7 separate regions of the Homo sapiens genome follow, and all the other regions are linked to region 1. Evidence: promoter capture Hi-C in human tissues and cell types (Jung and others, 2019). All regions are on one chromosome and are shown on one strand. Each heading gives the region's core, a stretch centred on a gene start or on the middle of the fragment in contact. The rest is flanking DNA. Distances are from core to core; before and after follow the strand shown. Region 1 holds the start of ZNF714 (zinc finger protein 714). Region 2 overlaps LOC124904663 (a long non-coding RNA gene). Region 3 overlaps ZNF100 (zinc finger protein 100). Region 4 overlaps LOC105372317 (a long non-coding RNA gene). Region 5 overlaps ZNF100 (zinc finger protein 100). Region 6 has its middle 64 kb from the start of ZNF100. Region 7 overlaps ZNF737 (zinc finger protein 737).

What was found. Contacts are between HindIII fragments. The study calls those that stand out against the background at their distance.
Region 2: a contact is called between a fragment that was not itself captured here and the fragment with the promoter of ZNF714 in region 1, in 1 of the 25 tissues and cell types used here (hippocampus).
Region 3: a fragment that was not itself captured here is called in contact with the fragment with the promoter of ZNF714 in region 1 in 1 of the 25 tissues and cell types used here (dorsolateral prefrontal cortex).
Region 4: a fragment that was not itself captured here is called in contact with the fragment with the promoter of ZNF714 in region 1 in 1 of the 25 tissues and cell types used here (stomach).
Region 5: a contact is called between a fragment that was not itself captured here and the fragment with the promoter of ZNF714 in region 1, in 1 of the 25 tissues and cell types used here (heart left ventricle).
Region 6: a contact is called between a fragment that was not itself captured here and the fragment with the promoter of ZNF714 in region 1, in 1 of the 25 tissues and cell types used here (aorta).
Region 7: a fragment that was not itself captured here is called in contact with the fragment with the promoter of ZNF714 in region 1 in 6 of the 25 tissues and cell types used here (H1 embryonic stem cells, adrenal gland, hippocampus and 3 more).

What each region holds. Positions count from the first base shown.
Region 1 is chr19:21,080,556-21,084,632 of GRCh38, reverse strand. It overlaps ZNF714 (zinc finger protein 714), which reads right to left and starts at 2,430. Exons shown (of 5, transcript NM_182515.4): 1 at 2,285-2,430; 2 at 564-655. RefSeq lists an enhancer at 1,942-2,091. The HindIII fragment of the contact is 9,806 bases long and covers 788-4,077 here.
Region 2 is chr19:20,411,981-20,416,057 of GRCh38, reverse strand. It overlaps LOC124904663 (a long non-coding RNA gene), which reads left to right. Exons shown (of 2, transcript XR_007067167.1): 2 at 407-1,037. It also overlaps the pseudogene ZNF826P. Among named protein-coding and RNA genes, the nearest start is that of MIR1270, 15 kb to the right of the region's middle. The HindIII fragment of the contact is 3,294 bases long and covers 155-3,448 here.
Region 3 is chr19:21,742,289-21,746,365 of GRCh38, reverse strand. It overlaps ZNF100 (zinc finger protein 100), which reads left to right. Exons shown (of 5, transcript NM_173531.4): 3 at 1,299-1,425; 4 at 2,251-2,349. Among named protein-coding and RNA genes, the nearest start is that of ZNF100, 23 kb to the left of the region's middle. The HindIII fragment of the contact is 6,742 bases long and covers 1-4,077 here.
Region 4 is chr19:20,435,347-20,439,423 of GRCh38, reverse strand. All of the region lies in intron 1 of LOC105372317 (a long non-coding RNA gene), which reads right to left. Among named protein-coding and RNA genes, the nearest start is that of MIR1270, 38 kb to the right of the region's middle. The HindIII fragment of the contact is 4,344 bases long and covers 1-3,890 here.
Region 5 is chr19:21,725,349-21,729,425 of GRCh38, reverse strand. ZNF100 (zinc finger protein 100) reads left to right here. Exons shown (of 5, transcript NM_173531.4): 5 at 1,437-4,077. The coding sequence ends at 2,743. Among named protein-coding and RNA genes, the nearest start is that of ZNF100, 40 kb to the left of the region's middle. The HindIII fragment of the contact is 4,592 bases long and covers 1-4,077 here.
Region 6 is chr19:21,701,652-21,705,728 of GRCh38, reverse strand. No RefSeq gene overlaps it. Among named protein-coding and RNA genes, the nearest start is that of ZNF100, 64 kb to the left of the region's middle. The HindIII fragment of the contact is 3,485 bases long and covers 152-3,636 here.
Region 7 is chr19:20,557,812-20,561,888 of GRCh38, reverse strand. The region is part of intron 1 of ZNF737 (zinc finger protein 737); the gene reads left to right. The region is part of intron 2 of LOC105372316 (a long non-coding RNA gene); the gene reads right to left. Among named protein-coding and RNA genes, the nearest start is that of ZNF737, 5.9 kb to the left of the region's middle. The HindIII fragment of the contact is 6,645 bases long and covers 1-4,077 here.

The sequences.
Region 1 (4,077 bases), core at 1,181-3,680:
CAAATCTCTTCAAGGTGACAAATCCAGAAGTGGCAATGATGGTTAAATAACAGATGTGTGTGACTCATGTTTCAAGTCAGGCTATTCAGTCACTTGAGAGATTCTTCCACCCACTCCTACTCACTTATGTGCTCAAGAAGCACCCATTCAGGAGACACTGCAGTATTTCTCGGTGGCTGCTCCAGAGGCATTTTACTTTGCAAGCTCTTACACCATCTCAGTTAACCTTGCTGATGGCTATGGGTGACAGAATTAGGCATCTACAAGACCATAGGACATGGGGATCTTTTTCTTCTCCAAAAGGGAAAACTTAAGTGCTAATGGAACTGCTGGAAAAAATCCTGACTGCTGGAGTCAGGTTTTTTGTGTTTTTTGTTTGTTTGCTTGATTTTTTTTTTCTTTTTTGGTCTTTTGGGATACTATTTTTTCTGTCACAATTTTTTTTTCTTTTTAACACTATTTTTTCTTTCACTACATTTATTTCATTATATTTCTACCCCTTAGACAATCCAGGAGGCAGATGTTATTTCTGTGTTTTCCCCTCAGTACCAGCATCTGATTACCTTTTCAAAGTAAGAGTACACTAGAAGCTTCCTCTCTGCCCCAGGGATCCACTTGCTCCCTTGAGAGGATACACTCCAGACCTCAGGTCGCCCTATGGAAGAAAATAAACCAGAAGCTGATATTCACTAGGCACTTTAGCTGACATAACCATGGTGGATATCTTGGTTGATCCCCAGACAGTACTGAAACCCACGACCAGAAAAAAACTAAAGGGTGGCTGAGGACACATCACCTCATAAAGGTTTCAAAGGAATACCTTGACCCAAAAACATTCTGACAAGATCTTTGTACCTAGAGAAGATACAAGGAGAAGAGGCACAGAGAAATTTTACAATACAGTGTCAGGGGATTATTCTTTGCTTTCTTCTCATGGGAAAGTTACAAACAGGTAACAAACCTTTTAAAAAGCGTCATTTAAAGCTTTGTCAAAAAATAATTAATTAAAATATGGTATACAAAAGTACACTAAAAGACAAACAGGTGATAACGTGAATTAGGGAGGAAAAGCTGGCATTAGGGAATGCCAGGAGGAACTGGAAATTTAATATCTTACTGCAAGCCAGAGTGAGGCTGGAGATATGGGGGACGGGAGGTTAGATTTAAGACAGTGCTTGGGACACAGTTGAAAAATGCACCAGAAAATCAGTTCCCCATGGAGTGTGAAAATAATTAAGCGGCGGGAAATTAGACTGAGGTGTCTCTAGTCCCTGGATTCCTACTTTTAAAAAAATCTGGCTGGGCGCGGTGGCTCACGCCTGTAATCCCAGCACTTTGGGGAGGCCGTGGAGGGCAGATCACCTGAGGTCGGGAGTTCGAGACCAGCCTGACCAACATGCAGAAACCCGTCTCTACTAAAACCACAAAATTAGACGGGCGTGGTGGCGCATGCCTGTAATCCCAGCTACCTGGGAGGCTGAAGCATTGGATCGCTTGAACCCGGGAGGCAGAGGTTACGGTGAGACAAGATCGCCCCATTGCACTCCAGCCTGGGCAACAAGAGCGAAACTCCATCTTAAAAAAAAAAAATCTAACTGAGGTGCATTTTTAGTAAATTACTACATTGAGAGAAACAAAATTCATCCTTAACCAACTATAAACTGCCAATTAACATCTAATTACATAACCAGGAAATTTTCACCTTTATTTTACAAATTAAGAAACTATGTATCTGAACCTAACCAATTACTGAATTTGGTTTTCTTCATCATGCTGTTTATAAAAGTCTTTACTTCAAGCCCCGCCCATAAACCATAAATTACAAACCACAGCTGGGTGCTCCACAATTTTTGAATCACGCTTTGATTAAATGCTTTAGTGTTTTAACGGTGACTCCCATACATTTTCAACAGAAGAGGAACTGGAACCCCACGGACCCATTCATAAACCCGCACCCCGAGTCAGGATTCTACCCCTGGGACCCTCCAGTGGTCCCTGCACAATCCGGGAGAGACGCGCCGCTGAGGGTCCAGAGCTGCCCTGAGAGGACTCCAGGTCAGGGCCCAGTCACTGCGCAGGGAAAAGACAGGACGCCCGGGATCCCGCAGTCAGCGCAGCCGCCATCTTATGGCTGAAGGGGACTGAGGCCGAGCTGAGCAAGGAGAACTCCGGGCGCAGATTGTAGAGTTGACTGCGGGGAGGCCTAAGTCCCACCACAGCCACTTCCCACCGCTTACAACCCGCCCCTTCCCCTCTCTCGGGATGTCGGACCCGGCACTCTCACCATTTCTAGGCTTCCGGGGTACCTGGCGTCTTAGCTGTGGATCTCTCAATACCTGCAGGTCACAGGGCCACAGAGGCTGGGCCTCTGCGAGCAGAGGACACAGGGCAGTGAAGGCGAGACCTGCAGCTCCAGCTGCAGCGAGAGACAAAGGCCCCGCCACATCCCCGAAGCCGTCCTGTCCGCTCCAGCTGCAGGCCTGATTGGACGGTTCCCAACCCAGCGTCGCTGATTGGATAACTTTTAAAACCCCACCTTCTCGTGCCCTGAGTGACAGAAGATGTGATCAGTTGCTGGGCTGAGTGAAGAAAGGGTGACAGCCTAGGCTGCAGCCTTCTCAGGCAGGGCTTCCTCCCAGAGCTGAGCCAGGCCCACCCCAGAGGGAATTTGCCTTTAAACTTGTGTGTAAAGTCATATGCATTTATAAATAATATATGGCTCTTCACAAAGGAAAAAATATAATTTTATAATAACAATTATTTTAAAATTTCAGATTTTATGACCTTCCTGGCTTCTTTCTGGTCTTTGAGCAGGCAGGCTGAGATTTTAGAAAGGAGGTAATCCTCTGAAATAAAATGTGAGCCATATGTGAATTTTAAGTTTTCTAGTAGCCAAACTTGAAAAAGAAACAAGAACAGGTTGAATTGATTGTAACAATTTAATTAACCCAATATATCAAAAAAATTTTCATTTTAATGTGTGAGAAATATGTAATTATTAATAAAGTATATAAATATTTGGAACTAAATCTTTGAAACTAACTCTGTATTTTACCTTTCTAGCATCGCACTTCAGACCAGGCGCCACACATGGCCAATAACTGCCACATTGAAGTGCAGCTCTGATGTCAGCGGTGTGAAGGGCCCAAGCAAACCTTTTCTGCCAGAGGTGAAGGAAGAGCCTCTCCCTACCAACATCTCTCTTCCGTTCCGGGGGTGGAACAGATAGTGGCCAAAGAAAGAGGAGACGGCAGCAGGAATAAAATAATTACAAGTAAAGCACTGCTGGATGAGATCACAGGCGCGCGCCACCATGCTCGGCTAATTTTTTGTATTTTTAGTAGACACGGGGTTTCACCATGTTGGCCAGGCTGGTCCTGAACTCCTGACCTCAGGTGATCTGCCCGCTTTGGCCTCCCAAAGTGTTGGGATTACAGGCGTGAGCCACCGCACCCAGCCTCAAAATGTTTTTTCTTTCTTTTTTTTTAATTTTAAAAAATGATGGGAACATGTCAAAGGGAGCCAGCCTGAAAGAACTCCCAATGGTCCATCCTGGAACAATGTTAGCATCCAAATGAATAATTAGAGCACTGACCTATAAAATAAATCAAGTCAAATAAATAAATACCCATGCATTTACACTGATACACAAAAAACTTTAAATAAATAAAAAAGAAAAAAGGATAGGGAAATTTTTTTTTACAGAATTCCAAATACTAATCAACATAGATAAAATGCTAAAGAAACCATCACAAAACCACCAGTTATTATTGTATCCAAGGTTAACTGAGGAGTGTAAAAATTGTAAATAACACTTAAAAAATAAGCATTGTATTTGCATAGCACCAAAGTATCTGACTAAATTGTACCCTTCAGTTTTAAAGCAACCTATCACTATTAAAAGCAACAATTATGACTCTTTGTTACTGGATTTATAATATGTAGATGTAAAATTGTAAAAGCACCACAAAAGATCAACGAATAAAATAGAATCGCCCAGGCACGGTGGCTCACGCCTGCAATCCCAGCACTTTGGGAGTCCGAGGTGGGTGGATCAAGAGGTCAGGAGTCCGAGAC
Region 2 (4,077 bases), core at 552-3,051, 670 kb after region 1:
TAAGCAGACTGACCATGATGCATGTCACATTCAAGTTCAATTGTGTAATAAAACCATTTTCTTTCTGTTCTATTATTGTGGAGTTTCTCTGGAGCTGGATAAAATCTGTCTTTTAATTATTGTTTCCAAACACTGTCTAGAATTACCAGACATGATATAAACACAAATAAGGTGCCAACCGGAACTTACTCTAGAGGGGACTATTCCTCTCAGGCTTCCAGTCAACTCACACTTGTGCAGCAAAGTGCATGCTGTCCCCTAAATATGAAGGCAGAATTGTGTCCCTGCCTATTTGGTATCTAGAGTCCTTTACAGTCACTGCTAGAGAGACTAGATCAGATTTCTACAAATTTCACAGGGAAGCAATCAATAATTTTTTCTCTTTCAATGACTCTTGTATTTTCAGACCTTAAACAGATTCAGAGACCGTGGGGCCAACAAACTGAACTGGAGTAACATGTGAATTGAGTAGACATGTAGACAAGAAAGTCTCCACTATCCCCTTTCTACTCTTGCTGAAATGCTCACTAATGTGCAAGTAACACCTGCTGCTACTCCTGCCATTCAGGACCTAAATCTGTAGCTCCATATTTTGAATCCAGATCTTGAGATTTGGGAAATAAAAAACTTTTATCTAAAAAGTGCAAGCACTTTTGGTTATCAAACTCAGAGAGATGTTAAAATGAAAGAGCAGTTAACATCTTTCTCTCCCCTTTGAACTATGTATTCATCCCTTGAAACTGTTCACTATTGCCACAAGTAGCTATAAAGTAAATTAACAATGCCACATTGGATACTATATTCTATACCCTAAACAATAATGATATATATCTAATCAATAATCAATATTATTTATCTAAATAAATAAAAACTTCTGACAAACAACTTTGTATCAGACCACTCTATGTCCCTCTCTTGTCTTTACAAATCTTGTAACTGCTGCTAATCAAAGTGTAGATTTCAGGCAACTTGAATCTTTGCTCCCTGGTTATAATCCTTAAGCTTAAACCAAATAAACTGTCTACTTATATTCTTGATATGTCAGCTTTTTTTATTTAGACTTATCACTTAGAATGTTCTAGAGCAGCCTCTATGAGGGTACTCTCCTTTGATTGTACTCCATTTGCTGTAACACCAAAGGATGCAGAGCCAGGTTGATCCTATCTAGAATCTACAGATTAGGTCCGGCCTCTGCCTGGGATTTAAAAAGTGCCAGACTTTGGATATGGAATGTACAGAAAATTAACAAAAGTTATTTTCTGCATTGTAAGTTGTCAAGATAGACATCTTACAGCCCCCATTTCAGAGTGTGGCATTTTGAGTTTTTTTACATCTTTTTCATTGACCTGCTACAGTGATGTGAGAGGCTCCAGGAGGAAATAGAATCTGATGGCAGAATCTGTAAGTGTAAATAATCATCTTAGGAGTGAGAGATCAGGCCACAAAGTATCCAGAGCCATGACCACAACTATGTTTACCTGTAAAATGGGATACTGGAGTAGAGTATTTTTGTTCTGTCTTTTACCCAAGTGCTAGCATATCAGGACAGGTGACCCAGGTTCTGGGGCTCCACCAACGCAGTTTTATTTTCTATTTAGAATCAGCCTGAGTCGCTCCAGCCTGGCTTATCATTGGGCCATCAGCCCTGGGTCACTGGGAATTCCCTCACAATCACCTAGGTTTCTTTGAGGCATTTGAGGATGTCCAGAGTAGAATTGTGTCAGGCTGACAAGAGTGGTTAATTCTGCTTCTGTCTCAGTGTAAAGAAAAATGAGTCATTCTGTGTTTGTTCAACCCATCATACAAGAGTTGTCTTTGGTTTGTACAGGGATGAGAGTTTCTCCAGTTTCCTGGTACTTGGATGATAAACAAGGAGATCTGGAGACCCAAGTAGATAAACTAGTTGCTTCCATTTCTTATGGTCATTAAAAAAAAATACATGAAGCAGTCATGGTACCTACCACCTGAAGGGATATTAATGAACAGTAGAATTGTTATAATTAATTTTTCTTTTTTTGAGATGGAGTCTTAGTCTGTCACCCAGCCTGGAATGCTGTGTCATGATCTTGGCTCACTGCAACCTCTGTCACCTGGGTCTAAGCGATTCTCCTGCCTCAGCCTCTCAAATAGCTATGATTACAGTGCCTCCCACCACAGCCAACTAATTTTTGTATTTTTAGTAGAGAAGAGGTTTCACCATCTTAGTCAGGCTGGTCATGAACTCCTGACTTCATGATCCATCTACCTCAGCCTCCCAAAGTGTTGGTATTATAGGTGTAAGCCACTGTGCCCAGCCGTATAATTTCTGTTCTTTTACCTTCGTAAGTGTACACACTGATTTTCTTATAAAATTACCCTAGAAAACCTTAAGAGAATTGTTTAAATTGCATATTAGTATACAGTATAAAGTTGACAGAGCAGTGCTAGAAAATATTAAAATTACAGAAACTCTGGGGTTTTTCTTTTAGGTAAGATTAGAAAAAAAGAAAACTGTTAGTACCACAGTGGCATAGAGAACAGAATTCTATAGGATCCTCACCTTGTCCCAGACATGTTCAGATTCACCCTTTTTGGAGGCCTTATTTAGGTCTGACCCTACTCTGGAGTCTTGCCTCACAGAACTGATTAGAAGATATCAGAGTTTTGGCTGGTGAATCCAATTTCCTGAAACCCAAAAGCAGATAAATGGGAAAAATAAAGTATGTATTGTAGAGTCTTAGTTTTTAAATTTTCTGTTAAAACCAGTGTTGGCAGAGACATTCTATTTAGCAACTTGTTTTCTATTCCTGCAGATCCAGTAGTTGCTCCACAAGTCACAGAAAAGTAAACATAAACAGAATAAAATTTTCTCTAAACTACAATAAACTCTTCTATATCTCTTTCATCTGTATATATTTAGCTTTTATTCTTTACAATGTTTAAAAAAATTTGGTAACAGAGAAACAGAAGAGGCAGTAAAAATTCTCTGCCCTTTATCTAAATCCTGGAAATTATTAAACCCTGAGTACTAGCTCCAAGAATGTTACAAGAATTAAATCACATAATATGTTATGCCCAGCATAGTGCTCTGTATCATACTCTTGAGCACAAAGTACCTGCTTAATAAACATTGCATTTGTACATGTGTACATGTTTTTTAAATGCAGACTTATCCAGACATTGCTGCCTTCTGTTTCCTCTGTAAACTTTAAAGACCCAGCAAAGAATATAAAACTTTAGCATAGATGTGTTGTCCTTATTTGTACCAGAAGTATTTGGTTGTGACAAGAGTTCTAAGTGTAAGGGACCCTCTGCTATTCCTGCTTTCTCTAATGCTAATAATGAGCCAAGGAGAAGCAACATCAGCATTGACAGGGGACTTGTTTAAAACACCCATTTATGGACCCTTTTCAAACCTACAGAATCACATAAAGTGGAGTCAAAATTACCAAGTGATTTATAAGCTTCTTAAAGCTTGAGAGGCAATGCTTAGCTTAGTGGTTATCAGCCCAGGCTTCTCATTAGGATCACATGGCCAATTTGCAGAAATCTCTTGTGCCTTCCCCACCGGTTCTGTTTATTGTTCTGGGTGGAAGTATCCATGTTGTTTTAATGAAGGGCTTCACGTGACTCTAAGGGGAGGCCAGAATCAGGTATGAGGGTCTCAAAATACTTTCATGAGAGTTAAGAAGTTCCACCTTTGCACTAAGTGGTGCGCACAGGACCTGTTCTGTTTGGTTTTGGTAGGGGCAGGTCAGTGTGGCACATATTTCCATTACTGTAGCAGAAATTGCTGGTGTCTGTGGCAGAAAGGGCACCAGAGGACATGAAAGGAGAAACTTATATTTTTATCTTCATGGAGCATCTCATTGTTCTTGAATCTTTTTGTTGTAAAAAACAGAAATGGGTGGACTTTTTCTGTCTTTTTCTGCCAGTTGATGTCATGCTAGCAGGTAAACATGTGGTGCTGACACATTTAAAGGCATAGTCTCAAGATGCAGGGGTAATTTGGCCAGAGAATCTCATCTGACAAGGAATTCCAGAGGAGGAGGTGAAAAAAAAAAAAAAGGCTTCTCTTCAGGTAAACATGTCTCAGAT
Region 3 (4,077 bases), core at 552-3,051, 660 kb before region 1:
AGATTGAGAGATACCTGCTATATAGGGTGCTGAAGAAAGACTACTTAAAATCATTATTGAAAATTACAGAACATTGGAGATACCTGTATCTTGAACTTTGCATAAAACTGATGTTTCTGTATGATTGAATTCAGAATATAATTTACTTTTGGAGGGGCAATATCTAGGCAATGATGCTATGTTCTTCTATGTGCATAAGCACAACATAAAAATTCGTCCTACTATGGTTGATATTAATAATTTACTTGGTTAAAAAGCTCTCTGATATTTCTTTCACTACAGAGTTAACTATTTTTCTTGTCATTATTAGGCATCTTTATGCAGTTAATGTGCATAAGCCATCACATTTAATCTGGCAGCTGCCCTTTTTTCTTATGTTTTCTTTGCATGTAGCTGTCTTTGGAAAATGAAGGCTCTTTGTTTTACAGGCCAGAAAAATCTGGTAAAACACAGGCTCTTCCACTTACTGGATGTTTCACAGAATTTTCTTTTGGGGCCAAAAACTTTGGCATTACTAGTGAGCTCGTTAGAAATTCAGAAACTCGGCCGGGCGTGGTGGCTCACGCCTGTAATCCCAGCACTTTGGGAGGCCGAGGCGGGTGGATCATGAGGTCAGGAGATCGAGACCATCCTGGCTAACAAGGTGAAACCCCGTCTCTACTAAAAATACAAAAAATTAGCCGGGCGCGGTGGCGGGCGCCTGTAGTCCCAGCTACTCGGGAGGCTGAGGCAGGAGAATGGCGTGAACCCAGGAAGCGGAGCTTGCAGTGAGCCGAGATTGCGCCACTGCAGTCCGCAGTCCGGCCTGGGCGACAGAGCGAGACTCCGTCTCAGAAAAAAAAAAAAAAGAAAGAAATTCAGAAACTCAGACTTCATTCCAGATCTTCTGAAAAAAAATCTGCACAAGATTTCCAGTTTATTGTAAACATTAAAATTCAGGAGGTGCCTTCTAACTCAACATCTCTTTTTTGTCTGAAAAATATACACAACTCATTCTTTATGATATAAATAATAACACTCAAAAATGTATATGTTTGTGTTTATGCTCTTAATTTTATACTTTATCTAGAAAAGTGTCATATATACACTGGTGTTGTGGATCTTATGCCATTCTCTTCTCTCAGAATTAGAGAATATTTTAGAGAATATTTCTGTGTTAAAAATTATTGGAAAATTTGTCATTTCTATTAATCAGAACCAATTCTCTTTGCTCTGTCATTTCATTTTAATTCAAATAATAAATTCTGCCCATGGCCACTTGGTAAATATATGTGTGTCTCTGTGCTTGTGCTTTTCAGGGGCCATTGACGTTTAGGGATGTGGCCATAGAATTCTCTCTGGAGGAGTGGCAATGCCTGGACAGTGCTCAGCAGGGTTTGTATAGGAAAGTGATGTTAGAGAACTACAGAAACCTGGTCTTCTTGGGTGAGAATAACTTTAATACACAATTTCTAATATACCGTAAAGGTTTCTCTTTTTTTGTGGAATGATTTTTGGTAATTCATGCTTTGCATAAATGAGTTTCTGATCCGTTTTTTCAAGAAAATCTTGAGGCTGTGTGTGGAAAAGAATGTATTCAAGATGTTTCATCTTGACCTGAACTTTCCATATTCCTGAGCTGATCTGTATCCTTCACTCTAGATTAGTGGTAATTCCAGAAATTTAGTGTCATAAAATATTGTTGCCCATGTTTTTAGGCCGGGCATGGTGGCTCACTCCTGTAATACCAGCACTTTGGGAGGCTGAGGCAGGCGGGTCACGAGGTCAGGAGTTTGAGACCAGCCTTGCCAACAAAGTGAAACCCCATTTCTACTAAAAATACAGAAATAGCCGGGCATGGTGGCAGGCGCCTGTAGTCCCAGCTACTCAGGAGGCTGAGGCAGGAGAATTGCTTGAACCCAGGAGGTGGAGGTTGTAGTGAGCCGAGATCATGCCACTTCACTCCAGCCTGGACAATAGAGCGAGACTCCGTCTCAAAAATAAATAAATGTATATATATGTACATATATATTTGCCCATATTTTAAAATCCATTCATCACCACCAATTTTTTGATTCATGAGTACCGGGTAGTGAAATTAAGAACCTACAAATTTAAAATATTTTCTAAATATTTAGAAATTTCTCTCATTAATTAGTACGTTAGGATTAATTTTCTAGAATATTCTATCACCTCCTCTTTACTAAGCATAGTACTAGGTTGGTAATTGGAGAATATGAGAAAGATTCATGTTATTTATTTCTAATAAAGCAGGTATTGCTCTCACTAAGCCAGACCTGATCACCTGTCTGGAGCAAGGAAAAGAGCCCTGGAATATAAAGAGACATGAGATGGTAGCCAAACCCCCAGGTAGGTGAGAGTGAACACAACAGATGACACAGATGTGAGGTCCAAAGGTCAAAAAGAAAGCTGGTCATTAAAATGTGGTTTGGGAAGCTATGTTCCAAAGGAAATAGTTTCTGGGATGCCTGAGTGTTTTTGTTTTTTGGGCTTTTTTTTTTTTTTTTTTTTTGGCTGTCACGTAGGGGCATCTTCTGTCTTATGCTTTTAAATTCTTTAAAGATTCTACTTTCCTTTTGGTGATCTTCCTTCAGGTTTACAGTGAGAGCCAGAGTCCTTTTCAAGGCATATAAAAGACTGCACAATCTCCCTACTTTTCCATTATTTGGGGGGACACACAGATATCTGCATAATTTTGGGAAACTCTATGTTAAACTATTTTTTAGTTCTCTTTTTTCATCATGTCTGAAATGTGTGAAAGTAGTGTTTTCTGTTCCGTTGTTTTGTTTGTTAATCTTTTTGCACATTCCATCCTGTTTTTATTACTATATTCTTGAAATATAGTTAGAACTTATAAAGTATAATACCCCTCTGCTTTGTTCTTTTGCCTCAAGATTGCTTTGGCTATTTGAAGTTTATTGCAGTTTCTTATAAATTTTAGAATTGTATTTTTTATTACTGTGGAAAAAAATGCCACTGGAATTTTAATAGGAAGTTTATTGGAGCTATAGATTACTTTAGATAATATGACACTTTAACAATATTTATTCTTTCAATCCATGGACATGAAATATTTTAAAATTTGTGTCTTCAATAATTTATTTCATTGATATATCTTTTTTGTTTTGTTTTGTTTTTTGAGACGGAGTCTCGCTCTGTCATCAAGTTGGAGTGCAGTGGCGCGATCTTGGTTCACTGCAACCTCCACCTCCTGGGTTCAAGCAATCTTCCTGCCTCAGCCTCCTGAGTAGCTGCGACTACAGGCACATGCCACCACGCCAAGCTAATTTTTTTAATTTTTAGTAGAGATGGGGTTTCACCATGTTGGCCAGATGATCGTGATCTGTTGACCTCTTGATCTGCCTGCCCCGGCCTCCCAAAGTGTTGGGATTACAGTCGTGAGCCACTGTGCCTGGTCTATCTTATATCTTTTATTGTAAAGATTTTTTTTACCTTCTTGGTTAAATTTCCTCTCAGAAATTTATTATTTTAATGCTATTGTAAATAAGATTGTTTTCTTTATTGTATCAGATGGTTAAAATGTATGGAACAGTAGTTTATACTTGTATGTTAATTTTATATTTTGCTAATTTACTGAGTGTATTTATTACTTTAGACAAATTTCAATGTAGTGTTTATGGTTTTTTTATATATAAGATCATATGATCCACAAAAAGTAACTTATTTTTCTTCAATTTCAGTGGCTTTTTAAAAATGTTTTTGACTCATCATTCTGCCACTTACTTCCAGTCCTACGTTAAAATAGAAGCATTGACAATGGGCACAATATAGTTTTGCATTGGTGTCTGTGAATTTGATGGAGGAAATACCTCTTCAACTTTTGTTTTTTGTTTTTTGTTTTTTGTTTTTTGAGACGGCGTTTCACTGTTGTTGCCCAGGCTGGAGTGCAATAGCGCGATCTCAGCTCACTGCAACCTCTGCCTCCCGGGTTCAAGCAATTCTCTGTCTCAAAAAAAAAAAAAAAAAAAGAAAAAGAAAAATTAATGGTTGTAAAAACACGTAACATAAAATTTACCATCTTAAATCTTTTTTTTTTTTTTTTGGGTGGGGGACAGA
Region 4 (4,077 bases), core at 469-2,968, 640 kb after region 1:
ACTACTCTCTCAGACTACAGTGGGATAAAAGTGAAAATCAACTCCAAATGAACCCTCAAACCATGCAAATACATGGAAATTAAATAAATACATGGAAATTAAATAAAACATAAAATTTACAATCAACCTGTTTTTGAATGATTGTTGTATGAAATCAAGATGGAAATTTTAAAAATCTTTGAGCTGAACAATAATAATGACACAATCTAACAAAACATCTGGGATACAGCAATAGTGGTGTTAAAAGGGAAGTTCATAGCATCAAGTGCCTACTAAAAAGTCTGAAAGAGCATAAGTAGACAATCTAAGATAACACCTCAAAGAACTAGAGCAACAAGAACAAGCCAAACCCAAACCCAGCAGAAAAAAAGAAATAACAAGGATCAGAGCAGAACCCTAGCAGGAGGGGTGGCTGCAGTCTCTGTGGACCAGCAGACTTAGCCTTTCCTCCTGCTAGTTTTGAGGGATTTAAGCAGCCCAGATGAGTGGATTTTCCCACAGCAAAACACCTCCCTCCACCAAAGGACAGTCAAAGTGCTTCATTAAATGGGTTCTGCTCCCCATCTGCTCCCCATTCCACCTTCAATAGGAATTGTCAGACACCCTATACAGGAGCAATTCTACTGGTATCAGATTTGTGTCTCTTGAGGTCAGAGATGACAGAGGAAGGAACAGACATTCTTCTTTGCTGTTCTCCAACCTCCTTGAGTAACATCTCTAGGCACGGGAGTGAACCAGATGGATAGGGCTTGAAGTGAACCCTAGCAAACTGCAGCAACCCTACAGAAGATGGACCTGACCATTGAAAGAAAAACAAACAGAAAGCAACAACAACAGCATCAACAAGAAAAAAAAGTACCCACAAAAACCTCATCCAAGGCTGCACATAGTGGCTTACACCTGTAATCCCAATACTTTGGCCAACATGGTAAAACCTCCTCTCTACTAAAAAATACAAAAATTAGCCAGGCATCCTTGTGCATGCCTGTATTCCCAGCTACTCAGTAGTCTGAGACATGAGAATCACTTGAACCTTGGAGGCAGAATTTGCAGTGAACTGATATGGTGCCACTGCAGTCCAGCATGGGTGACAGAGACTGTGTCCAAAAAAAAAAAAAAACCATCCAAGGGTCAGCACCCTCAAATGATTGAAACTAGACAAACTCAAGATGAGAAAGAATCAACAAAAAATGGCTGAAAGGCCAGAGTGCCTCTTTTCCAAATGATCAAAATGTCTCTTGAGCAAGGGTACAGAACTGAACAGAGAATGAGATGCATGAATTGACAGAAGTAGGTTTCAGATGACGGTTAACAACAAACTCTGCTGAGCTAAAGAAACATGTTCTAACCCAATTCAATGAAGCTAAGAACCTTGATAAAAGGTTAGAGGAACTGCTAACTAAAATAACCAGTTTGGAGAGGAATATAAATGACCTGATGGAGCTGAAAAACACAGCACGAGAACTTCATGAAGCATACAAAAGTATCAATAGCCAAACTGACCAAGCAGAAGAAGGATATCAGAGTTTGAAGACCACTTTGCTAAAATAAGGCATGCAGACACGATTAAAGAAAAAATAATAAAAAGGAACCAACAAAGGCTCTGAGAAATATGGTGTTCTTTGCAGGAAATGAGTGAGTGGAGAAGAAAAGACATACACACAAAATACCTTTAAAGATAAACAAGATTTATCCCACGTAAATGGCAATGCAGATATAGTAAGTAAATTTATATAATAAGAAAATTGCAATGGGAAGGGGAGAAGGGAATATATATATATATGTGTGTATATATATATATATTTACACTCACCAGACTATGGAGGATTTATCACCAGACCAGGAAGCAACAGTCTGGGCTCCAGAGTCAGCCAACAGTCCTTGCACAGACTAGGAGAGGTTTCTTGAAGCTTTAGTGTGGTCTGGGACCCTAGCTCTTCTTGTAACAAGTTGTTTGGCATGAAGCCCAGTCACGAGGGCCCTTTGTGACTGGGCTCAAGAAACACAAAAAGGTCAACTTGTTATTGTGATTGGCTATTGTTTTACAATAACTAACATATAGGAATAGATTGAAATAGAGACTTCTCTGAAACAGTGCTGAATGAACGCCTCAAAGGGGCTCACACAACCTGTGCCAAGACTTGGTGACCTTTATTTGTGTCCACGTTCAATTGAGTTCAAATTTAATACTTAACTTTTCGTCAACATTCGGCCTCAATTCGGTACTCAATTGTATTAAAATACCGTTATAGATACATGGGGAACTCATAGTTGACATAGATTATGGATACAGGGTAAGCATAGGAGAATTAAAAGCACAATTTAAAAAAAAAAACATACTCATGGCTTTGCAAGGAGACTAATATTGTGAGAATTGCCAGGGATATACACACAACATCCAGTATGCAGTAAGGCGCAAACCCCTCCTTGGGCTGCGGTAAGCATATCTAATGCCATTTGATTTTGCAACACAACAGTACGCAGCTGAGCAAATTCATCTGATAACAGCATAAGTCCAGTGCTACTATCATTAAGAGCTTTTTCTACATATAAGCTTAATATTTTAATTTGTTGGTGAAGCAGGATTGTTCTAGCGGCAGGGGAGAATACTGTGATAAGGTATCGCCACCAAGGAGGCCGGCACATTCATAACCAGTGGTGTTTGTAAGCATCCAGATTACTTGGGAGGGGGATATTATCCCGGATGGTGAATGGAATTAATGGCCACCCACAAGTGATCTCCCTGCCCAGTGTGGGGGCAGGTACCAACACCCACAGGATCTGCATACCCAGAGGGCCCCCCAGGGGACAGCCATGGACCTACTGTAAACATACTGTACTAATGTGTTATTAAAATAGGAAAGAGATTGTGGTTCATTGGGGGCAATGTTGTTGATTTGGAGTATGTGTTGACAATTGTCTGGAGAAACCCCAGAGTAACATTAGAGGAGCCATTTAAGGCCTCCAGATGAAGCAGGGGCTGTGTGGAATCCAGCCACCAGCACAGCAGGTTTCCAATATATACCGTTCCAGGAATATTGGGCAAAATACCAAGGCTTTTGATGGAAGGTGAGGGTGGAGTTCACCTTTTGTCTGACCTGGGCAAAGACAGATTGCTTAGTGTGGTGAAAGGAAGTCCAGGTTGGATTACAAGTGTTGTTGTTGTGGCCCCATTGATAACGACATAGCCATTCAGAAATATTGTCAGGGACGATTCTTCAAGGTAGCCCATTCCTGGCAGCCTCTGGCAACTCGATGTACAGCCAACATTCTCTGTGATTGGCTTTTGTTGCAGCAGTGGCTACCTAGTAAATGAATTTATTCTTGGCTTTAGACACAAAGACACAGGTGCTGACCATTAGTAGATAGGTTATTCCTTGTAATAACAAAAACAGAGGGGAACATATTGTTTTTCATCTTTAGGAAATTGTACTATGCCTTCATTTTCTGCTTTCATAGCTACAAGGTCACCAGCCTTAGGGGCAGGATCTGTTGAACCCTGTATCCATATATTGGCTCCAGGATTTAAGCTACCTGTAGGAGTGGATCTGAATCCCCCAATTCTGTATGTAGCCTCTGTTGGGGCAGAGATTTCCTCACGGGATAATTGTTGACAAGGTACCACTAATAATTGAGCAACAGGCATCTGCGGTCTTATAGCAAAAAAATCTGGAGTGGTATTGTATAAAATGTCCTTTAACTCTCCCCGGTAATCACTACCAATTATAGCACCATACATTATAATGCCTCTCATTGCAAGGCTTGAACACATTGTATTCCATTCATGCACATTCAAGTTTACAGTTATGGTGGAAATTTTGGCCTGTTGATCTTCCTGCTAATTAAATGGTCTGTCAAAAGAAAGCAGAGACCCATGAGCATCAACATGGAAAAAGGGCCAGGAACGATGGCTCATGCCTGTAATCCCAGCACTTTGGGAGGCTGAGGTGGGCAGATCACGATGTCAGGAGGTCAAGATCATCCTGGCCAACATGGTGAAAACCTGTCTCTACTAAAACTACAAAAATTAGCTGGGGGTGGCAACGTGTGCCTGTAATCCCAGCTACTTGGGAGGCT
Region 5 (4,077 bases), core at 901-3,400, 650 kb before region 1:
AAGTAATGTATTTTTATTTGACTGTGTTGTTTTTGTTGAATCATGTTATTTTCAATAGAAGCAACTGCTTTCAGTACATTTTGTATGTAGGGTTTATGGAGTTCCAATATACTTTTCAGAATTTTGTTACTTTTGAAAGTTATTTTCTTTTTATTTGGCAGGACAGATTTGCTGATAGTATTATGCTTACTTGATTGCTGTATTTTACAGGAGTTTGACTTTATTACACACTTCCCTTCTGGCCTGCAAAATTTTTATTGACAATTCACTGGCTGTCTCATAAGACTATGCTGGCAAATGACGCATCACTTTTATCTTGCAGCTCCCAAGGTTCTCTTGTCTGTGACTTTTGAAATTGTGCTTATATATGTGTTTGTTATAAATATCTTTGTGTGTTTCCTAGTTTGTTTGTTGAGCTTCTTCATCTTTACATCGTTTCTTTCAATATTTTTCAGCTATTCTTTTTTATATTTATTACCTCCACAATTTGTTTTTTTGATATTCTAAATATTTATGTTCTTATCTTCATTTTTCTGATTTTCTATAGTTCTCTGTCTTCCTGTTTCACTCACTGAGTATTATTCAATTTATTTTCAATTTTTAAAATCGGTGTGTATACATCTTTTTTATAGTTTCTTTTTTAAAATTTTATATTTTTATGGAACCATATTGCCTTATTTTGTATACATTGTAATCCTTGATTGAAATTTGGACATTAAAAAAGGCTACCTGTCACAATCTTTATAATGTAGCTTTGTCCTGGCATAGTCTGAACAATCGTCTTGGTTAGAGATTCTGGGAGTCTCTCAAACATGTTCTTAGAATGTGTCTTGTCTGAGATTTTGTCTTTCTCTTTTAGTTAAAGGAGTTTATTCATGTTTCTTCTTAATAATAATCACGTGCTACACCTGTTTTCTGTCTGTGGTACAGCAGTCTCTCTGTTGCTGAAACATTTACCTTTGGTCTCAGCAAAGTTAAGACTGTCACTCCAAAGTATACCACCGTTTCTTTCAGCATTATATTTCAAGAGAGACACAAACCAGTGTCTGGAAAGGCTCCTAGAAGCAAGTAATAAAGATAAATGTGCCAGTATTTTACTTGTCATTAAAAACAAGTTGGCAATTTACTTCTAAAGACAGTATGTTATATTGGGGAGCAGAAAGAGCTCTGTTGGGTAAATGTACAGACTTTTACTTCTAAGTGGCTCTTTGCATTGTTCTCACCAGGGGCACTTCACACACTTAACTCATTTATAATTTTTTTCAGATGTAATTTGGTTGGTTTTTTTTTTTTTACATTTATATGTCTATAAAGGAATGAGGGCCTTTGGTATTTTCCTATGCCATCTTATTTATGTAGTTTGTATATTAGAGGTTAGATTTGTAAACTATCTGTGTCTAGTAAGTAAAGTAATTTGTTATTTTTATTTCTTTCAGTTATATGTTCTCATTTTCCCCAAGACCTTTGGGCAGAGCAGGACATTAAAGATTCTTTTCAAGAAGCGATTCTGAAAAAATATGGAAAATATGGACATGACAATTTACAGTTACAAAAAGGCTGTAAAAGTGTGGATGAGTGTAAAGTGCACAAAGAACATGATAACAAATTAAACCAGTGTTTGATAACTACCCAGAGCAACATATTTCAATGTGATCCATCTGCAAAAGTCTTTCATACATTTTCAAATTCAAACAGACATAAGATAAGACATACTAGAAAGAAACCTTTCAAATGTAAAAAATGTGAAAAATCATTTTGCATGCTTTTACACCTAACTCAACATAAAAGATTTCATATTACAGAGAATTCCTACCAATGTAAAGATTGTGGCAAAGCCTTCAACTGGTTCTCAACCCTTACTACACACAGGAGAATTCATACTGGAGAGAAACCCTACAAATGTGAAGAATGTGGGAAAGCATTTAACCGGTCCTCACACCTTACTACACATAAGATAATTCATACTGGAGAGAAACCATACAGATGTGAAGAATGTGGGAAAGCTTTTAACCGGTCTTCACACCTTACTACACATAAAAGAATTCATACTGGAGTGAAACCCTACAAATGTACAGAATGTGGCAAAGCTTTTAACCGGTCCTCACACCTTACTACACACAGGATAATTCATACTGGAGAGAAACCCTACAAATGTGAAGAATGTGGCAAAGCCTTTAACCAGTCCTCAACCCTTACTACACATAAGATAACTCATGCTGGAGAGAAACCTTACAAATGTGAAGAATGTGGCAAAGCTTTTTACCGATTCTCATACCTTACTAAACATAAGACAAGTCATACTGGAGAGAAATTCTACAAATGTGAAGAATGCGGCAAAGGCTTTAACTGGTCCTCAGCCCTCACTAAACATAAGAGAATTCATACTGGAGAGAAACCCTACAAATGTGAAGAATGTGGCAAAGCTTTTAATGAGTCCTCAAACCTTACTACCCATAAGATGATTCATACTGGAGAGAAACCCTACAAATGTGACGAATGTGGCAAAGCCTTTAACCGGTCCTCACAACTAACTGCACATAAGATGATTCATACTGGAGAGAAACCCTACAAATGTGAGGAATGTGGCAAAGCTTTTAACCGATCCTCAACCCTTACTAAACATAAGATAACTCATACTGGAGAGAAATCTTACAAATGGGAAGAATGTGGTAAAGACTTTAACCAGTCCCTAAGCCTTATTAAACAAAATAACTCATACTGGAGAGAAACCCTACAAATGTGAAAAATGTGGCAAAGCCTTTTACCAGTCCTCAACTCTTACTAAACATAAAAAAATTCATACTGGAGGGAACTCCTGTGACTGTGAAGAATATGGCAAAGCCTTTAATAAATTCTCAATTCCTAACAGACATAAGATAATTCATACTAGAGAGAAATTCTACAAACCAGAAAGATGTGACAGTGCTTTGAAAACACCTCAAACTTTTCAAAACATAAATCATAGTGTTGAGAAATCCTAGAAATGTGAAGAATGTGATAAAGTTTTAAATGGTTGTCACACTTGATTGTAGGTAAGGTAAGTTATACTGGAGAAAACTTCTACATGTGTGAACAGTGTGACAAAACTTTTAACTAATGCTCACACCTTCACAGGAAAGCATTTATACTTGAGAAATATTGTACAAATATAAAGACTGTGAAAAAGCCATTAATACATGCTCACATCTTACTCAACATCAGAGAGTTCATACTCAATAAAAACATAAGTGCAACTACTGTCAAAATATCTTTAAGAAAATATAAGCTTTTAAAGTGAAGAGTATTTTGAAGAAGAACATTGTAGTAGAATTGTAATATGTTTACTTGTATCACAGATCTTACTGTACACGTTTTGTATTAGAGGAAACCTCTGAAGCAGTTGCTCAAACTTTGTTCAATATCAGGGAATTTATATTGAAAAAAACTGTGCGAATGTAATAAAGTTGGAAAAATACTTTTTCAAAAACTACAGCTTAGAAAACACCAGAGAGTTCATACTAAAACATATTTTTGCAGATACAGGAAAAATTTTTTAAAAATTTTAATCATTAAGTCTGTAAATATCAGAGAATTTACAGTAGAAATATGTAAGGCACTGATGCTTCAGGTATTTTACTAAATCAGAGTGCTGAGTATAGAAAATAATCTAAAACTAAAATTGGTAAAATATTTGTATATAACTTTAAAAGTAGAAATTTTTTGCAGTTATTGCATTCAAAGTATGCTTAACTTTTTGAAAAAATTAGATTTTTTGAAAAGTGAGTAATAATGTAATTCAACTCTTAAATTATTTCCTGCCTTTTCTTCACTCCTATTTACATGTGAAAGCATGTGATCAATTGTTGCTGCATCAGATATGAGAGATTCTTTTTTATTAGGTGAGCATTATTTATAAACTTTGCTATGAAAAAGACATTAAAATATGAGATGTATGATGAAAATCTAAGTGAAGAGACTTTTATGGTTAACTTATAATATTAAGCAATGTGTGCGTTAGGCATTCAGAGTAATATTCTGCATTATGAGAAAACTTAATTTCATTTATAAGTAAATTAAAATTAGTATATTTTACTAATA
Region 6 (4,077 bases), core at 645-3,144, 620 kb before region 1:
AGGGTTGCATATGTAAATAGAGGCAGCTGTACCAAAAGCCAGTTATATTTCAACATGGAAACTTCCCCCTCTTTTCCTTTTCACCCTGTGTGTAGGTGTCATGGTCACAGCCAGGTAGAAGCTGCATTTGCATAATAAAAGGCTAGGGTGGGGAGCCAGTGTTTTCACTGGCTATGTAAATGGCACTCCTGGTCAACCAAACCCCTGGGCCCTATGTAAATCAATCACTGCCTCCACAAGCCTCTCTACAAAATCAATCGTGTTCTACCCCAAACCCAGAAACTCTTCTGGGTGACCTGCTTTCTCAGCATGAGGAAGCTTTCTCTCTTCTTTTTTGTCTATTAAACTTTCTGCTCCTAAACCCACTCCTCCTGTGTGTTTATGTCATACATTTTCCTGGCATTAGACAATGGACCCCAGGTATTTACCCCAGACAGTGCAGCCATTTCATCTGGGAGCTTGTCCAGGATCAGAACAAAATACAGAATCATCGGAGTGGTGAGTATGGAGTGACCATCAAATCTGACCTTTAATCTCAAGGCTCTCAACCTCCATTTTAAAATACTTCAGGCTGGGCACAGTGGCTCACGCCTGTAATCCCAGCACTTTGGGAGGCTGAGGTGGGAAGATCACCTGAGGTCAGGAGTTTGAGACCAGCCTGGCCAACGTAGTAAAACACTGTCTCTACTAAAAATACAAAAAATTAGCTGGTGTTGTGGCAGGCACCTGTAATCCCAGCTACTCGGGAGGCTGAGGCAGGAGAATCGCTTGAATCCAGGTGGCGGAGGTTGTGGTGAGCCAAGATTGCACCATTGCACTCCAGCCTGGGCAACAAGATCGAAACTCCATCTCAAATTAAAAAAAAAAAAAAAAAAAGAATGATACAGCAAAGGCTGGAACTAAGGAGATTCCATTTATGAGAGTCTTACATAATTATTTATAAGGAGGTGGAAAGAGATGTTACTAGTAACCATGTTCTGGGTGGTTCTCTTCGTACACACACTCAGTACCTGTACATGTTTCTTTATATGTCACATATCTCATTAGCATCTTAAATCTCCACACACGTGAGTGTTTTTTACTATTACAATGAGTAAAAGGTCAGTTAGAGGACAGGTAAAATCAAACTGTGCTCTCTACAGGGGAATTTCCCTGCTGGAGAGAGCTTTTCTTGAATGAGCTGAAATCCAATGTAAATGTTGGTGCTTATTGTGTTGGCAGTCTGCAGTTGTCATGCAATCACCATGGTTGCCGCATCCCCAGGACATAGCCACTTTCTTGATTACCTAGCCCGCCTCAATAGTACTTGATTTATTCCCCAACTATCAACTCTAAGGCTCAGATTTAGCTGTTATGTCAACATTGTCAACAGTGGCAAAATTAAAATTTTTAAATCAAACATATTTGAGCTTCATTTGGGTCACTAGCTGTGTATCCAAGATAAATCATTTTACATTTCTGGAGCCTCAATATTCATTATTAATAAAAATTATTTCCCCCAAGGCTATTTTAGTTCATGCATGGTAGCTATAATACATGAAAGTCTTGTCTAAATATTATATTAAATACTTAGGAGAAAGAAAATCATATTTCAAAGATATAAGTGAGTTGGTATATTTTGTCATATTTAGTGTATTTTTTCTTTTTTAAAAATGCCAAAATAAGAATTTTATTATTTTTTCTGGAATAACAGAATGTTTCTAAGTTATGACTTTGCTGATTTTTACATATGGTTTTCTGCTACTGTTGAATGTAGGTTAAATTTCAAACCCACTGTTTTTTAGCTTGTGTGGTTTTTGGGGTCATTTTGGGGAACAAAATATATTAGACATTGACTGTTTGGGGAAACTTGGTTTCATTCCTGCCCTCTTTCTTTTATTACATCTAGGGCTTCAAAAATGACTAGGATTCTAATAAGGTTGATTTGAAATCAAGCAACAGAAATTCCCAGAAAAGTCTCAGGGAAATAGCTACTGGATAGTGTCTTTTTGTGAGATTTATACATGAAACAGAGTTCAATAAAATTTATAAAATTATTGCAAGTTTTTGGGCCAGGTGTGGTGGCTCACCCCGGTAATCCCAGCCCTTTGGGAGCCCGAGGTGGGTGGATCACCTGAGGTCAGGAGTTCGAGACCGGCCTGGCCAACGTGGTGAAACTCTGTCGCTACTAAAAATGCAAAAAATAGCTGGGCATGGTGGCAGGCACCTGTAATCCCAGGTATTTGGAGGGCTGAGGCAGGAGACTTGCTTGAACCTGGGATACAGAGGTTGCAGTGAGCCGAGATTGTGCCACCACACTCCAGCCTGGGTGACAGAGCGAGACTCTATCTCAAAAAAAAAAATTGCAAGTTTTTTAAATTTAGAAACTAATTGCCTTCAACATATTAGTGCCTTGTCTTAGTTTGTCTACAGCAACCCTACCTTGGGGAAGCTAAAATTACAGAAAAGGATATTGCTACTGTAATAAGTTTTGGAACAAATACTTATGTGCTTATGAACATTCCTCCTTAATAATCCTTAGATACATGTCATTCTGGCTCAATCCTTTTGGCAGGACTGTTTGTAATTCCAGAGACTTTTTCTCACCAAAGAGAAGCCATGGAGTTTTCAACTTTTTTTTTTTTTTTTTTTTTTGAGATGGAGTCTCACTCTGTCACCAGGCTGGAATGCAGTGGTGTGATCTCGGCTCACTGCAACCTTCACCTCCCGGGTTCAAGCCATTCTCGTGCCTCAGCCTCCTGAGTAGCTGGGATTAGAGGTGTGCGCCACCATGCCCAGCTAATTTTTGTATTTTTAGTAGAGACGGGGTTTCACCACGTTGGCCAGGATGGTCTTGATCTCTTGACCTTGTGATCCGCTTGCCTAGGCCTCCCAAAGTGCTGGGATTACAGGCATGAGCCACCATGCCCAGCCTCAGCTTTTTATGTTTATGTTTACTAGTGAGCTTCATAGTTGACATCATTATATTGGGGTCCCCCAGGAACCTCTGAGCCTTAGAGCTGACCATCCTACCTCATCCTTCTTGCTTCTCATGCTCTGTTGTTGACTCCCTCTCACTTCATGTTTGAGCCTTCATGAAACTTCAGTTTGGAGAAACCAGAGACACGGGTTGCCATATATCTTGAGAATCAGGATCCTCTTGAGGATAAAGACTTTACATTTATCATTCATGTTACAAAACAGTATTTTTAAGATGTGAACATGTTTCAGTGAAATTAAATAAAATGATTTTATCAGTATGCCAATGTGATCAAAATAACTGTATCAAGTTCACCAAATGTTTTGCTTTAGACTCTCCCAAAACAAAGATCAATATGTATGCACTGGTAGATGTTAGTTTTTTTGGTGTAGCTTTTTGTTTGCATTTTTAAAGATTTTTTTTCTACTCTATGCTGATGTTAAGCTACACAAAGCTTACCAAAAACTTAATTTTATCACATTTTTCAAGTGAAAGGTTAAATACTTTTTTTTTTTTTTTTTTTTTGAGGCAGAATCTCACTCTGTAACTCAGGCTAGAATGCGGTGCTTCAATCTCAGTTCACTGCAATCTCTGTCTCCTGAGTTCAAGCTATTCTCTTGCCTCAGCCTCCTGAGTAGCTGGGATTACAGGTGCTTCCCACCATGCTTGATTTTTGTATTTTTAGTAGTGATGGGTTTTACCATGTTGGCCAGGCTGGCCTTGAACTCCAGACCTAAAGTGATCCACATGACTCAGCCTCCCAAGTGCTGGGATTACAGGCATGAGTCCCCATGCCCAACCTAAATACTTACATATTGAAATTGACATTCTAGATTATTCTTTTCCACATTATATCGTCTGTAATTATTAGTACTGCATTGCAGTTTTTTCTTGCACAAGCTTATAAAAATATATCCAGTTGATTTCTTAGATAAGAGAAGAATCTGTTTTTTCAGACAGTAGCATGAGAATTCTTGACATACTATCTTTAGAGATACTGAAAGCAACTGGATAAATTTGCTGAAATTTGTCTTTGTTCATAAGCCCACTAGAGGCTAAGTCATAGCAACACACGTTGCCATAGTTCAATTCAAATTTTTTTGTCTAAAATCTTGTTG
Region 7 (4,077 bases), core at 878-3,377, 520 kb after region 1:
TGGTTTGCTGAGTTCTGTGAGTAGCTCTACCAAATTATTGAACTTCAGGGAGGTTATGGGACTCCCCAGTTTTTAAACAGTAGCTCAGAAGCATAGATAAGCCCATGGGGTTTGTGATTGGCATCTGCAGTGAGGACAGTGTTGTGGGACTGAGCCCTGAATCAGGGTCTGTGTTGACTCTCGGTGGTGTCAGAATTCAAATGTTAGACAATGAGTTGGTGTTGGAGAATTGTTTAATGTTCAGCAAACTCTACAGATTTGGTGCCAGGAAAAAGATATCACAGAAGTCTGGCCTGGAATAAAACTCTAGGTGTTTGGGAATGGGAGCTCTGCTGTCTGGTCACAGGCTGTCACACTGCCCATTGTCCTGTGATTCCAGGTCTTCTCCCAGGGTGACAGAGGACTGAAAACTTAGAAGAAAGGAGCTCTGATGACAGACCCCCTTTTCCCACAGCTGCCACCACAGGATTCCCACCCACTCACAAACACACACACTAGACATTGACATGTCCACCCTCCTCCCAGGAGTAGGCACCACCCTCAGGACCTTCACCACGGCGTTTTTGATCCTAGTGTTTCTTGCCAAGAACCCACAAGTCTCTACAAGTCTCCTGGCGTATCCCCACCCCCAGACACTAAATCTGCAGCAGCAATCTGTTTTCTCCACCAACCTAGCATTTTGAATCAGCTGTTCATAATCTCATATGTCTGCGTGCACACAGTAATAAATCAGAGTACAGCTGCACCAGGACAACTATCTGTAGCAAAAATCAGTCCTCTCACCTACATTGCAATCTCTCCCACCCAGGGATTTAATTTTTTCTTTTAGCTTTTATTTTTGTTTTGGGGTACACATGAGTTTGTTTTGGTGCATGGGGGTTTTGCGTGCAGATTATTTTGTCACTGAGGTATTAAGCATAGCACCAAACAGGTATGTTTTCTGATTCTCTTAGTCTTCCACCCTCCACCCTCAACTAGGCCGCAGCGTCTGTTGTTCTCCTCTTTGTGTTTGTGTGTTCTTATTATTTAGCTGTTACTTATAAATAAAAACATGCATTTGGTTTTCTGTTTCTACAGTATTTTCTTTTTCTTTCTTTCTTTTTTTTTGGAGACGGAGTTTCACTTTTGTTGCCCAGGCTGGAGTGCAATGGTGTGATCTCGGCTCACCACAACCTCCGTCTCCCAGTTTCAAGTGATTCTCCTGCCTCAGCCTCCTGAGTAGCTGGGATTACAGGCACATGGCACCACACCCAGCTAATTCTGTATTTTTAGTAGAGATGGCTTTTCTCCATGTTGGGCAGGCTGGTCTCGAACTCCTGACCTCAAGTGATCAACCTACATTGGCCTCCCAAAGTGGTGGGATTACAGGCATGAGCCACTGCGCCAGGCCTCTGCATTTGTTTTCTAAGAATGATGGTCTCCAGCTTCATTGACGTTATTGCAAAGGACATGATTTTTTTTTTTAATGGCCACAGAGTATTCCATGAGGTTTATATACCATATTTTATTTTGACTAAATCTTTTATTTCATTTTATTTTTGGAGACAGAGTCTCCCTTATTGCCCAGGCTAGAGTGCCATGGCATGATATTGGTTTACTTTAGCCTCAACCTCCCTGGCTCAAGCAATTTTCTCCTACCTCATGTTCCCAAGTAGCTTGGACTACACGCGGGCATTACCACACCTGGCCAATTTTTTTTTTTTTTTTTTTTTTTTTGAGACGGAGTCTCGCTCTGTCGCCCAGGCCGGACTGCGGACTGCAGTGGCGCAATCTCGGCTCACTGCAAGCTCCGCTTCCCGGGTTCACGCCATTCTCCTGCCTCAGCCTCCCGAGTAGCTGGGACTACAGGCGCCCGCCACCGCGCCCGGCTAATTTTTTGTATTTTTAGTAGAGACGGGGTTTCACCTTGTTAGCCAGGATGGTCTCGATCTCCTGACCTCATGATCCACCCGCCTCGGCCTCCCAAAGTGCTGGGATTACAGGCGTGAACCACTGCATCTGACCATACCATATTTTCTTTACCCAGTCTACCACTGATAGGTATTTAGGGCCTGTCCTTATCTTTGCTATTGTGAATAGTGCTGCAGTGAACATGCATGTGGATGTGTCTTTATAATATAATAATTTATGTTTCTTTGGGTATATACCCAATTATGAGATCCCTGGGTCAAATGATAATTCTGTTGTTAGTTCTGTGAGGAACCGCCACACTGCTTTTTACAGTTGTTAAACTATTTACACTCCCACCAGCAGAGTATAAGCATTCCGTTTTCTCTGCAACCTTGCCAGCATCTATTATTTTTTGACTTTTTGAAAATAGCCATTCTGACTGGTGTGAAGTGATATCTCGTTGTTGTTTTTCTTTTAATTTCTCTAGTGATTAGTGATGAGCATTTTTTTCAAGTACTTCTTAGCCACATGTGGTTTTTCTTTTAATTTCTCCCGTGATTAGCGATGAGCATTTTTTTCAGGTACTTAGCCACATGTATATTTTCTTTTGAAAAGCAGTGTTCATCTTTTTTGCCTACTTTTTAATGAGGTCGTTTGGTTTTGTCTTTTAAACTTGTTTAAGTTTCTAATAAATTCTGGATATTAGACCTTTGTCAGAGGCAAAGTTTGCAAAAATTTTCTTTTATTCTGTAGGTTGTCTTTTTCCTCTGTTGATAGTTTCCTTTGCTGTGAAGAAGCGCTTTAGTTTAAATAGGTCCCATTTGTCAATTTTTGCTTCTGTTGCAGTTGCTTTTGGTAGCTTCCTCATGAATTCTTTGCCAGTTTCTGTGTCTAGAATGGTATTTCCTAGGTTTTCATGCAGTGTTTCTTATAATTTTAAGCTTACATTTAAGTGTTTATCTTCAGTTGATTTTTGTATATGCTGTAATGAAGTGAGCTAGTTTCAGTCTTCTACATAGTGCTAGGTAGTTATTCCAGCACCATTTATTAAAGAGAGAATTCTTCCCACATTTCCCTTGTCAGCTTTGTCAAAAATCTGATGGTTATAGGAGGGTGGCATTATTTCTGGGCTCTCTATTCTGTTGCATTGGTCTTCAGCCTGAGTCTCTCTAGCCTGGCTTATCATTGGGCCATCAGCCCAGGGTCACTGGAAATTCCCTCACAATCACCTGGGTGTCTTTGAGGCATTTGAGGATGTTCAGAGCAGAATTGTGTTAGGCTGATAAGAGTGGTTAATTCTGCTTCTGTCTCAGTGTAAGGGAAATGAGTCATCCTGTGTTTTTTCATCCCCTCATACAAGAGGTGTCTTTGGTTGGTACCCAGATGAGAGTTTCTCCAGTTTCCTAGTACTTGGATGGTAAAGAAGGAAAAGATCTGGAGACCCAAATGGATAAACTAGTTGCTTCCATTTTATATGGCCATTAAAAAAAAACTATGCAGCAGTCTTTTTTCCTACAATCCAGAAGCTTTTAGTCTAGACTAGCAACTGGATAAATAATTGAATTGTGCATCATATGGTTGGTGCAATACATAGATGTGTCCAACACCTTGGGCTTTATTTAGGCCACTTTCTTTATATTTTTGAGACTTCTGATGTCTACATCTGAAGGCATATTTATGAACAGAAGAATTGTTATTATAGGTTCTTTTTTTTTTTTGAGACGGAGTCTCTGTCACCCAGGCTGGAGTGCAGTTGTGTGATCTTGGCTCACTGCTGCCCTCTGCTGCCCTGGTTCAAGCGATTCTCCTGCTTCAGGCTCCTGAGTAGCTGGGATTACAGGTGCCAGCCACCATGCCCAGCTAATTTATATATATCTTTTTTTTAATCTTTGTATATTTAGTAGAGATGGGGTTTCACCATCTGGTCAAGCTGGTCTCGAAATCCTGAGGTCGTGATCCACCCACATCATCCTCCCAAAGTGCTGGGATTATGGGCATCAGCCACCACTCCTGGCCATATAATTTCTATTTCTTTTACCTTGCTACATGTACATATTTATTTTCTAATAAAATTACCCTAGAAAAGCTGGGCATGGTTGCTCATGCCTGTAATCCCAGCACTTTGTGGGGCCGAGGCAGGTGGATCACAAGGTCAGGAGTTTGGGACCAGCCTGGCTAATATGGTGA